3 separate regions of the Homo sapiens genome follow, and all the other regions are linked to region 2. Evidence: promoter capture Hi-C in human tissues and cell types (Jung and others, 2019). All regions are on one chromosome and are shown on one strand. The core of a region is centred on a gene start or on the middle of the fragment in contact, and the rest is flanking DNA. Distances in the headings are between cores, read along the strand shown.

The links. The method cuts DNA at HindIII sites, captures the fragments that hold promoters and counts their contacts. A contact is called where the count stands out against the background at its distance.
Region 1: a contact is called between a fragment that was not itself captured here and the fragment with the promoter of HAO2 in region 2, in 1 of the 25 tissues and cell types used here (psoas muscle).
Region 3: a contact is called between a fragment that was not itself captured here and the fragment with the promoter of HAO2 in region 2, in 1 of the 25 tissues and cell types used here (H1 embryonic stem cells).

Annotation. Positions count from the first base shown.
Region 1 is chr1:119,333,711-119,337,011 of GRCh38, reverse strand. The region is part of intron 2 of LINC01780 (long intergenic non-protein coding RNA 1780); the gene reads right to left. Among named protein-coding and RNA genes, the nearest start is that of LINC01780, 7.1 kb to the right of the region's middle. The HindIII fragment of the contact is 3,396 bases long and covers 1-3,301 here.
Region 2 is chr1:119,367,393-119,370,747 of GRCh38, reverse strand. HAO2 (hydroxyacid oxidase 2) reads right to left here and starts at 1,963. Exons shown (of 8, transcript NM_016527.4): 1 at 1,846-1,963. It overlaps HAO2-IT1 (HAO2 intronic transcript 1), which reads right to left and starts at 1,802. Exons shown (of 2, transcript NR_046780.1): 1 at 1,740-1,802; 2 at 417-664. The HindIII fragment of the contact is 9,840 bases long and covers 1,139-3,355 here.
Region 3 is chr1:119,307,194-119,310,785 of GRCh38, reverse strand. No RefSeq gene overlaps it. Among named protein-coding and RNA genes, the nearest start is that of LINC01780, 19 kb to the left of the region's middle. The HindIII fragment of the contact is 6,234 bases long and covers 1-3,592 here.

The DNA.
Region 1 (3,301 bases), core at 370-2,869, 33 kb after region 2:
CACAAGTGCAACACACTCATTTTAGTGTCCTGGATATGGTCCAGGGAATTGTAATCTAAATTCTCCATTTCATATGGTCATGTTTCTAACATTGCCCAGAAAGGTCATTCCTGGGTTGCAATGGATTGAGAGGCAGGAAATAAGAACTCAATCTTGGCCCCACCACCAAATCATTCTGTTGTTCTAGGTCCTTGAGCAAGCTGTCTCCTGACTCTGCTCTCAGTTACTCCATCTGGGAAACGGGAATAACAAACTCCCTGTCGAAAACATGAAGATGAATTAGAGATAGTATTTTTAAAGTGATTTCCCAGCTAGAAAGAGAATGCTGCATATTTCATAGATGCTCCCAGGGACAAAATCACACACATGTAGTAGTCATTTTCTTTCCTCTGGAATTGAGAAAATATAGAACTTGAACTGGGAAATTCATTGTTCTAATGTTTGAGAGGGTGTGGATAGTAATCTTAAAAAATCAGCCAGTCACAGCTGATGTTGAGAAAGGGTAAACCACTAGTGGAATCAATTGGCTTTAGATGGAGGCAGCGAAACCTCCAATCAAATAGCTCACTAAATCCTAGTCTTGGCTCTGGCTCAAATCCCCTCACTAGAGTCTTAAAGTATGATGGGAAGCTTCTGGCGTTATACCTGGCACGGCACCACCCTGGGGTCCAGCTGGCCTTATAAAACTCTTTCACTCATACACAAGGCTGCTCCTGTTCACCATGCAGGGAAGGCACCCACTGTGTGCTCTCCTGGTGGATGCAGGTGGTAGCCAAGGTGGAAAGTCACGTTGACCCTCCAAAGCATAGGGCTTGGTACCTTGTGGGCACTCGGAGATCTCTGTCCTGGAAATGAATGAATGAAGGTACTTGTTCCATGCAGCTGAAAGTTTGGGCAGCTTTCCTTACCCTCTCCTGGAAGAAGACACAAGTCTGTGCACACTAAAGGGACATTTGGTGGGCACCCAAAGCTTGAGAGAGGTTGGCAGTAACAAAACTAACACCTATGTAATACCTGCTGAACGTGCCAGGCATAATTAGAAGCATTTTTAAGTTTTTAACGTGTTTAATCTTCATAATAATCCCATGAGGTATGCTCTGTGATTATTATTCCCATTTTACAGATAAAGTCAAGGCCCAAAGGAGTTCTGTAACTTGCCTAATGGTTAGGATGCTGGATGATCTGAATGCAGGCAGCCTGACTTTGGATCTCACCACCTTAACCACTCAATTATAGTGTACTTCAATGACCTATGACTCCTACCACAGGAGCAGACTTTGGGAGAAGATACCACTTGGTGTACTGTGCCACCGTCCCAGCATGAGACCAGAGCAGTTCTCAGTTTCCTGACACACTTGGGTAGGTTGGGCCTGGTGTTTCTGTTTCCTAATGGGGACACTGAGATGGAGAGCAGTTGTGTGTCTCACTCATAGTCACCAGGTTAACTGCGGCAGATCAGGAATCGGGTCTCCTGGTCCCTGCCATGCCGCTTGGGGCTCTGCAGCTCAGCCATTTGTGCCAGAGACACTCACCTAGCATACTTCTCAGCCCCGTCCCCACCAGACTCCTTTGCCCACGGCCAAAAATAGTGGCCATGCCTGACCAATCAACTGATAAGACACCTGCTTTGTGTGAAGGACTTTGGGCACTGGAATAAAAAGCCAGAAATGGAAGACTTTGAGGAACATTTAATCCAACCTCTCCTTTTGTGTCTGGAATTGGTGGGTTCTTGGTCTCACTGACTTCAAGAATGAAGCAGGGGACCCTCGCGCTGAGTGTTACAGTTCTTAAAGGCAGCGTGTCCAGAATTTGTTCCTTCTGATGTTCGGATGTGTTCGGAGTTTCTTCCTTGTGGTGGGTTCCTGGTCTCGCTGACTCAGGAGTGAAGCTGCATACCTTTGCTGTGACTGCTACAGCTCTTTTTTTTTTTTTTTTTTGAGACGGAGTTTCGCTCTGTCGCCCAGGCTGAAGTGCAGTGGCGCGATCTCGACTCACTGCAAGCTCCGCCTCCCGGGTTCACGCCATTCTCCTGCCTCAGCCTCCCGTGTAGCTGGGACTACAGGCGTGCGCCACCATGCCCAGCTAATTTTTTTTGTATTTTTAGTAGAGACGGGGTTTCACCGTGTTAGCCAGGATGGTCTCGATCTCCTGACCTCGTGATCCGCCCGTCTCGGCCTCCCAAAGTGCTGGGATTACAGGCGTGAGCCACCGTGCCCGGCCGTGACTGCTACAGCTCTTAAGGCGGCGCGTCTGGAATTGTTTGTTCCTCCCGGTGGGTTCGTGGTCTCGCTGGCTTCAGGAGTGAAGCTGCAGACCTTCCCAGTGAGTGTTACAGCTCATAAAGGTAGTGTAGACCCAATGAGTGAACAGCAGCAACATTTTTTGCAAAGAGCCAAAGAACAAAACTTCCACACTGCGGCAGGTGAGGCGAGAGGGTTGTGCCTGCTGGCTGGGGCAGCCTGCTTTTATTCTCTTATCTGGCCCCACCCACATCCTGCTGATTGGTCCATTTTACAGAGAGCCGATTGGTCTGTTTTACAGAGAGCTGAATGGTCCGTTTTGACAGGGTGCTGATTGGTGCGTTTACAATCCCTGAGCTAGACACAAAGGTTCTCCTAGTCCCCATCAGAGTAGCCAGATACAGAGTGTCCATTGGTGCATTCACAAACCCTGAGCTAGACACAGGGTGCTGATTGGTGTGTTTACAAACCTTGAGCTAGATACAGAGTGCCGACTGGTGTATTTACAATCCCTTAGCTAGACACAAAAGTTCTCCACATCCCCACTAGATTAGCTAGATACAGAGTGTCTACACCAAGGTTCTCCAAGTCCCCACCAGACTCAGGAGCCCAGCTGGCTTCACCCAGTGGATCCGGTACCGGTGCCGCAGGTGGAGCTGCCTGCCAGTCCCGTGCCATGCGCCCGCACTCCTCAGCCCTTGGGTGGTTGAGGGACTGGGAGCGGTGGAGCAGGGGGCGGTGCTCCTCGGGGAGGCTCCAGCCACACAGGAGCCCACGGCGGGAGGAGGCTCAGGCATGGTGGGCTGCAGGTCCCGAGCCCTGCCCCGCGGGGAGGCAGCTAAGGCCCGGCGAGAAATTGAGCACAGCAGCTGCTGGCCCAGGAGCTAAGCCCCTCACTGCCCGGGGTTCGCAGGCCTGCCGGCCGCTCAGAGTGCGCAGGCACTGAGCCCATGCCCACCCAGAACTCGCGCTGGCCGGCAAGCCCCATGAGCAGCCCTGGTTCCTGCCCGCGCTTCTCCCTCCACACCTCCCGGCAAGCTGAGGGAGCTGGCTCCAGCCTT
Region 2 (3,355 bases), core at 714-3,213:
TGAAGGCCATTGCTTTCCACCGATCAACTGTGCCCAAGGAACTAATGACTGAGGGAGTCAGTGGAGTAGAGAAGACAGACTATATTATAAGCTTTGGCACTTGGCAAACATAGGCTGAAATCTCAGCTCTACTACTGGCTCACCACGGTTCTGTGCAAAATTTATTTGTTAAAGGAGAATATTAACATCCATCCCATAGGGCTGCCATGAGGACTAAGCAGTATGGCCCCTTTGAAATTTCTAGAACAGTGCCTTGTATAGACTAGATTGTTAATAAAGGCAGCTCCATGTTCATTATTCCTCCTGTTGATGACATGTGTGATTTCATCTGAGGCTCTGGAAGTGGAAAGCTGCTTCAGGATTTGAGTATTTCTGTCATAGTATAATTTAAACCCTCTGTCAGATTTACTCATTAGTTTATCCAAGAAGGTTTATTGACACACACTCTCAGCCAGGGTGGCGGAGGCATATACTGCTCCCCACATGCTTAACATTTCGCTGTTGCTTAAATACAGGCATGGCTCTGTGACTAGTTCTTCTGGCCAATGGCCTGGGAGTGGGAATAGCAGGTGTGAATTCTAGGCCAAGGATTGAAGAGCTGGTATGTGACCCTCCAGCTTTGTTTCCTCCTCTACAGCGATCCTCCATCCTCAAGAAGGCAAAGCTGTAAGAGAAAGGCCACTTGGATTCCCAAAACGCCATTTGGAAAAGGGTAGCCCTGGAGATCAGCTGATATTGTGTAAGGAAGAAATAAATATTTATGTGTTATCTCACTAAGTTGTTAAGGTTTATTCTTTACTATAACATAGCCTGATTTAACATAATATATCAAAGTATTATGCTAAACACTAGAGATATGGGGGGGGACCTTTATCACATCAGTTTCTGCTCTCAAGAAGCTTACAGTCGAAGAAGACAGACTTTCATAGCTCATCATTTGATAGCTGATACGATTTAGAGTACAACAGGAGTCCCTTTGAGGGGAGAGTTACCTGGGAATTTGGCAATATTCCCATTACCTCTCAAATGATATACCACAAGTGATGTTCCACTCAATCTATTCTAGACAAGCTCCAATTCTCATCTATCTTTAAATTAGGTTATTACTGTCTATCTCATAGGGATCTTGTGAGAATTGAAGGATCTTGTAAAATGCAGAATATAGTAGTAGTTAAGAATAAAAGTTTGCGGATTTTGCTTCCTGCTAATGGACGCTTTATTCTGTTCCATTGATCTGTTATCTATCTTTATACCAGTACCTCCCTGTCTTCATTAGCGTTCTTGGCAGTTCTCCGCAGGTTGATCTGTAGATTCAACTTAACACAATCAGAGGCTCTTCATTAGTGGGACTTTGTAACCCATTTGTTCCAAATAAGCTTATTGCTCAAAGGAACTACATTGTTTGAGACACATTAACTTCTTTACTTTTTTAGGAGCATAGCCATGTCACTGTTTTCTTTTGCTTGTGGCCGGGAAGCAGTGGTCAGAATACTAAATATATCCCTGAAGGCAATAGCAATACCTTTTAGGTTTTCAGAACGCTGTCAAGTGAAAACATTTTAACCCATTTTTCCTCCTATGGACACCCACGAATATTCCACCATACAATTCTAAGACTCAACTTCCTAGACTTAACCTTCTCTGTCTGTATCCTTTTTGAAACCAAATCTTCCTTTGCCCATGCCCTCTGAGTTCCCTAACACCTGTCTCCCTAGGACCATCTTTGCCAAGGTCCTTGCCTTGCAAACTCATAGTTGGCTTCCACGATATCTTCCATTCCCATCCTATCTGGCACTTCATCACCCTTCTCAGTTCCAAGCACACAGAACACACTCAATGACAAACCTTATTCTAATGTCTTCCAGTCCTCAGGGAAAGAAGTGTTTAGACGCAGCCACTCAAAGCCTGGCTCACTGCCGGAGGTGTTAGGAAACACACCACATCACTACCCACAGTTCAGGCTAAAGAAGAGGCTGAAGTCTCAAAGTTAATCTTTTAATGAAAACATCCAGCTTAGCAGTAAATAAGCAACTAGGCCAGAGCAAGGTTGACTTTGAAAGAATTTTGCTGACTTTGCAAATTTACTTCAAAATTAAGTGAAGTTTATTACAAAATTAAACTTCAAAGTGAAGTTGTAATTTCCTACCTGAAATCACCCATTCCCTACCTCTAAATTCAAACTTGATGTTGTCCTCTGCTCATCACAGATTGTTAGAGGTAGGGAGTGGATGATTTCAGGTAGGAAATTACAAAAGTCCCCGGGTTGGAGGAGGGGCTTTTTGTGGTGATGGGGTTGGGGTGGGAGAAGAGCAAGCACAGCCTGGGAGCCCATGGGCAGGACAGCAGTGGGGACCCAGGCCAGGACGGTCCGAGCTTTGGGGATTTTGGAGGGTGCATAGTGTAGAGCCCTCCCTGCCCACAGAACTGTTCTGGGGAAGTAATTATGTCTAGATTAATATGGGAGTCAGGGAGAACCAGTGAAATTTTTGAGTGGAAAATTATTCAGGAATGTAGAAGAAATGCTAGGAAAAGCAAACTTAAAAGTACATGGAAAAATAGAATTAATTTCTCCAGAAGAGTTCTGTAGGGGTCCCAGAAAGGTCACTAATTTGTCCAGGTCTGTTCGTCTCCACTCCTCCCCCAGCTCTTGCCACTGCTCCTTAGTATTGCCACAGCTCACGTGTGTGATGCGCTTACGACGTGCCAGACACACTACACGCATTACTTCATTTGATCTTCACGGAAGGTCAATCTTTTCAAGATTGTCTCTTTTTCAGAAGAGAAAATGAGATTAACGAACATGCCCAAAGCCTTTCAGCAGTAAAGAGCAGAATTGGGATTTGAACCTAGCCTGTAGCCAACACACGGAGCAGAGGAGGCCGAAATCCTGAGCTGTACCGATGACCATAGCAGTGGGGTTTGCCTTTCCTTTAGAACCTGTAGTTAGAGAGCAAAATGATGAATTTACCACTGACTTGTCATACCATCTCCACTCAAGGCTCATTGGCTATTTATTTGGAGGGTAATCCCTACCTGCTATCTAGCCACTAGAGGACAGTATTACCTCAAAAATGCTTTCAAAAGTAGCCAAAATCTGGGTTCTGGAAATTTCTTTTCCATAGCAATTTTCACAATCTCCATAATCAGCCTCTAGGCCATGTCCTCGGTCAGCTCTCACAACACCTGGCCTGCTCACAGTCCCCTGATCCAGACCCTCCCTTGCTGTTTTCCAGACTCCGACTCTGTCTCTCCCTTCCAGAAGGAAGCCTGGTGATGAGCACACACTGGAACATGGTGCTCAAGCTCCAAACTGCAGCCACTCACTCACTAACATCCACATGTTACTTAAATTCTC
Region 3 (3,592 bases), core at 959-3,458, 60 kb after region 2:
CCTCTCCTTGGAGTGGAAATATATTTTAATTAATCTCTTATTCTTCAGGTTAGAGGAGCTTTTGGATCCATTATTCTCTGTCACTTCTGGTCTACTCCATGGGAGCTTCTTTATTTTTCTTTGTCCCTCTTGACTACATCTAAAATAGGCATTGGGGAATATGATTTCATAGGAGATGGAGCATCTATTCCAGTCTACTTCCTTCCCTGAATGATTCGAAGTCAGGGTCTCAACAGTCACTGCCCTTTTAGCCAAGCCCCATGGCTCCTTTGGCTGCATGCCTCTCTCAAAAATTCAGTGAGCCGAGACTCCCCATATGTTGTATTTCAGTCTCTTTAAGTGCCACTAACCATTCCCTCAGCCCTTTCTCAAATGTGGTTCCCTTATTTGCTGTTTGATTTCTCACTCCCAAACCTATCTCTAGACTTAAGTGCATGCCACATCTTTCTTTCCTTCCTTGAGTGCTTTTATCCGATTAAAAGGATTTACTGGCACCCTGTCCTTCATTGGATCTTACTTTAAGATGCCTTACTCCACTCAGAGCTCTTAACAACTGTATTTAATGACTACACCCTTAATTTGATCCTCCCCACAAGGCTGAGTTTTATTAGCCTTTGTTTTTCACAGTCTTCCTCATTCTTATCTTTTATAGTTTAGAATTGAGAAGCAGTTGACTTTGCAACCCCACCACTCCCTGAAGTTTTAGATGCTCTCTATTCTCTTTCATTCCTATTTCCAAGTAAGTGAATTCTTTGCTGAGACCATCTCTTGCTTATAGGACCTTGACAGGTATAGCCAACAGCAACCAGTGCACACTACGATATTCTTTCCCAACCTCTTCTCCTAGTTAGAAGCACGATATGGCTCCAAAATAGTTAGATGCATGATATGCCTGCAAAATGACTGAAGGTGGCAACTTTATAAAATGCTTTGCCATTAAATGAAGTGGATTACCAACTTTCAAGCCTCTAATATCAGTTTTCTCACAACCTATCACCTGGCACATAAGCCAATGTCATATATTTCGGGACTGTTTTTTTTCCCCCATTTGGCCATATTATTGTTGTTGCTATTGTTATACTAGCCCTTCTTTCGGCTCCAATATTTGTATCAGTAGAATAGTCTAGGTTATGCTTTGGTAAACAACCACCCTAGAATTTTAGAAATTTAAAACAACAAAGGTTTTTGGTTACTCAGACTATGTGTTCAACAAAGATTGTCAGGAAGACTTTGCTCATTGTAATCACATAGGCACCCAGGTTGATGGGGGCTCTGTCACTGCACCCAGCATGGGAGGGTCTTCGGCTGATAATTAAATGCTCCAGCCTCAAAGGAACTTGCATCGTGTCCCCGTACTACTCATTAAGTAGCACTAGACATATGGCCATGCTGCCTTCAAAGGGTCACATCCTTAATCCATTGAGTGGTTTTTCTTTTTTACTTTCCTATCCTAGATACACAAAGCAGGCCACTGATAATAACATCTACCTGCTTCAGTGGTCCAGGTGAGAGTGATAATGGACGTGAACTTACGGATTTGAACTTTTTGAAGATCAGTCAAGATCAAGACAGTGAATAAGACAGGGAAAGGTCCAACTCAAACAAATCCAACTGTGGGTTGGTGGAGAAAGATGATTTTTTTTCAGCAATGATAACTCTGAGTGACATTCAGGCTAAAACAAAACCACCAACCCACAGAAAAGCACCTCTAATACCAAAGGGTGAGTGTTTCAGAGCATGAAGGAGGAAAGCCAACAACTAAAATTCTTTGTCAACCGCGCCTCCATTTAGCCTTACTATTAATAATTGAGTCCTCACTTAAACAGCAGCTTGTAACCCCAGACCTCCAAACCTTGCAGCTGCTCATGGCTGTGATTTTTACTTTACACATACAGAAACAGATGCTGAGACCTACTTTTCTATCTCTCTGACCTTACACTGTAGTTCTTTTATTTTCCTCTCCAAGTCTCCTTTTGAGATTGATGAAAACTCTGTGTGTTAGAAAAAGAAGCCCTTTCCATTTTCCTACCCAAATTCCTCCTCTGTCAAGTTTCTTAGTTTCTATGAAGGAGTTACTGCTGCAGAATCTTCAGACTTCATTATTAGGTTTGGTTTTGGTTAATGTCTTTTAATGATGTGGAGAGAGGTGATAACTGCATATTAATAAGATTCACAAAAGGAGCCAAATGGAAATCTGTTGCAAACTCCAGTGGTGACAGCAATAAACTAGAACTCTGGAGAGAACTGACTGACAAGCAGGGAGCAACAAGATGTGCTGAAACCTGCACATGTGATACTGACACTGCAGGGGAAAGAAGCAGAAGTTTAAACATTTTTTTTTAAAGGGAAGAAGCAATGTATAAAACAGCAGTCAGAGAAGTCTTAAGGATGAAATGAAAAAACAAATGCTGAAATTGCAAAAACCTAGTCTCCACGGGAGGAAGTTGAAAGGATGTGGTAATTCTGCTGACTTCACTCAGCACCTTCCACCTTACCTTTCTCCCCCATGATGATGGTCACAGGTCCCAGGTCGAGAAAGCCAGTATATCCCAATCTCATAAACACAGTGGTTCTGGTGTAGACATGTAACCTGATGAGTCAAATAAGACTCGTTTCTTGGATTTTGTATTTTATTTTATTAGAACTAGTATAAAAATAAGAAGCTTTCTTCCTACAAGGATTGGAAGTTATACAGGTAGTATAAACCTATAGCTGTCAGAGTTCACCTAATAGAGAAGACCTGGCTGTGACTGAAATCAACATAAAGAAAAGCAGAGTTGACAAGAGAGAGAGAGAGAGAGGGATAGGGGAAAGGGGAACAGAGGGAGAAAAAACAAAAGAGAATAAGCCTTCTGGAACCAGCCACGCCTGATGTCATAACCTTTGATCGCTCAATTATGTGTATTAATAAATTTCTTTTTGTATAAGGCAGTTTCAGAGCACTAACCCAAGGTATCTTTTCAAACATACTGCCTTTTTTTTTCTATACCCTTTACTTTCTAGCCATACTGGATGACTCCAATTTCCAGAGTATTTTGGAAAAATTATTCTTCTGAGGTCTCGCTCAAGCAGCTTTCCTCCCCTTATAATGGAATAACACTGATTCTGCTATATTTGTGAAAATTCTCCTATCCTCAGGGTCCAGTTCAGACTATCTCTTTTGGACATTCCTCCTGAACATTCAGTGGGATGTGATCTTTCCCTTCTTTTTTATTATATGTGAGTAGACTAGTATAGATTTGGAAAGTTTGAATAAGAACAAAGTTGGAGGATTAAGACTACTTGATTTGAAGAATCACTATAAAGCTATAGTGATTGTGTCAGTCAGGAGTCTCTAGAGAAACAGAACCAATAGGGTGCTTTTCCTCTCTTTCTTACTCTCCGTGGTGTGTGTGTGTGTGTGTGTGTGTGTGTGTGTGTGTGTGTGTGTGTCAGTTGGCTCAATTCATATGTATATCACACGATCGTGGGGGCTGGCAAGTATGAAATTTGTAAGGCAGGGTGGCACTGGAAGCCCAGGCAGGAGTTGAGATTGCAGTTGTGAAGCAGAATTTCTTCTCCTCCTGGAAACCTCAGTTTTTGTTCTTAAAGC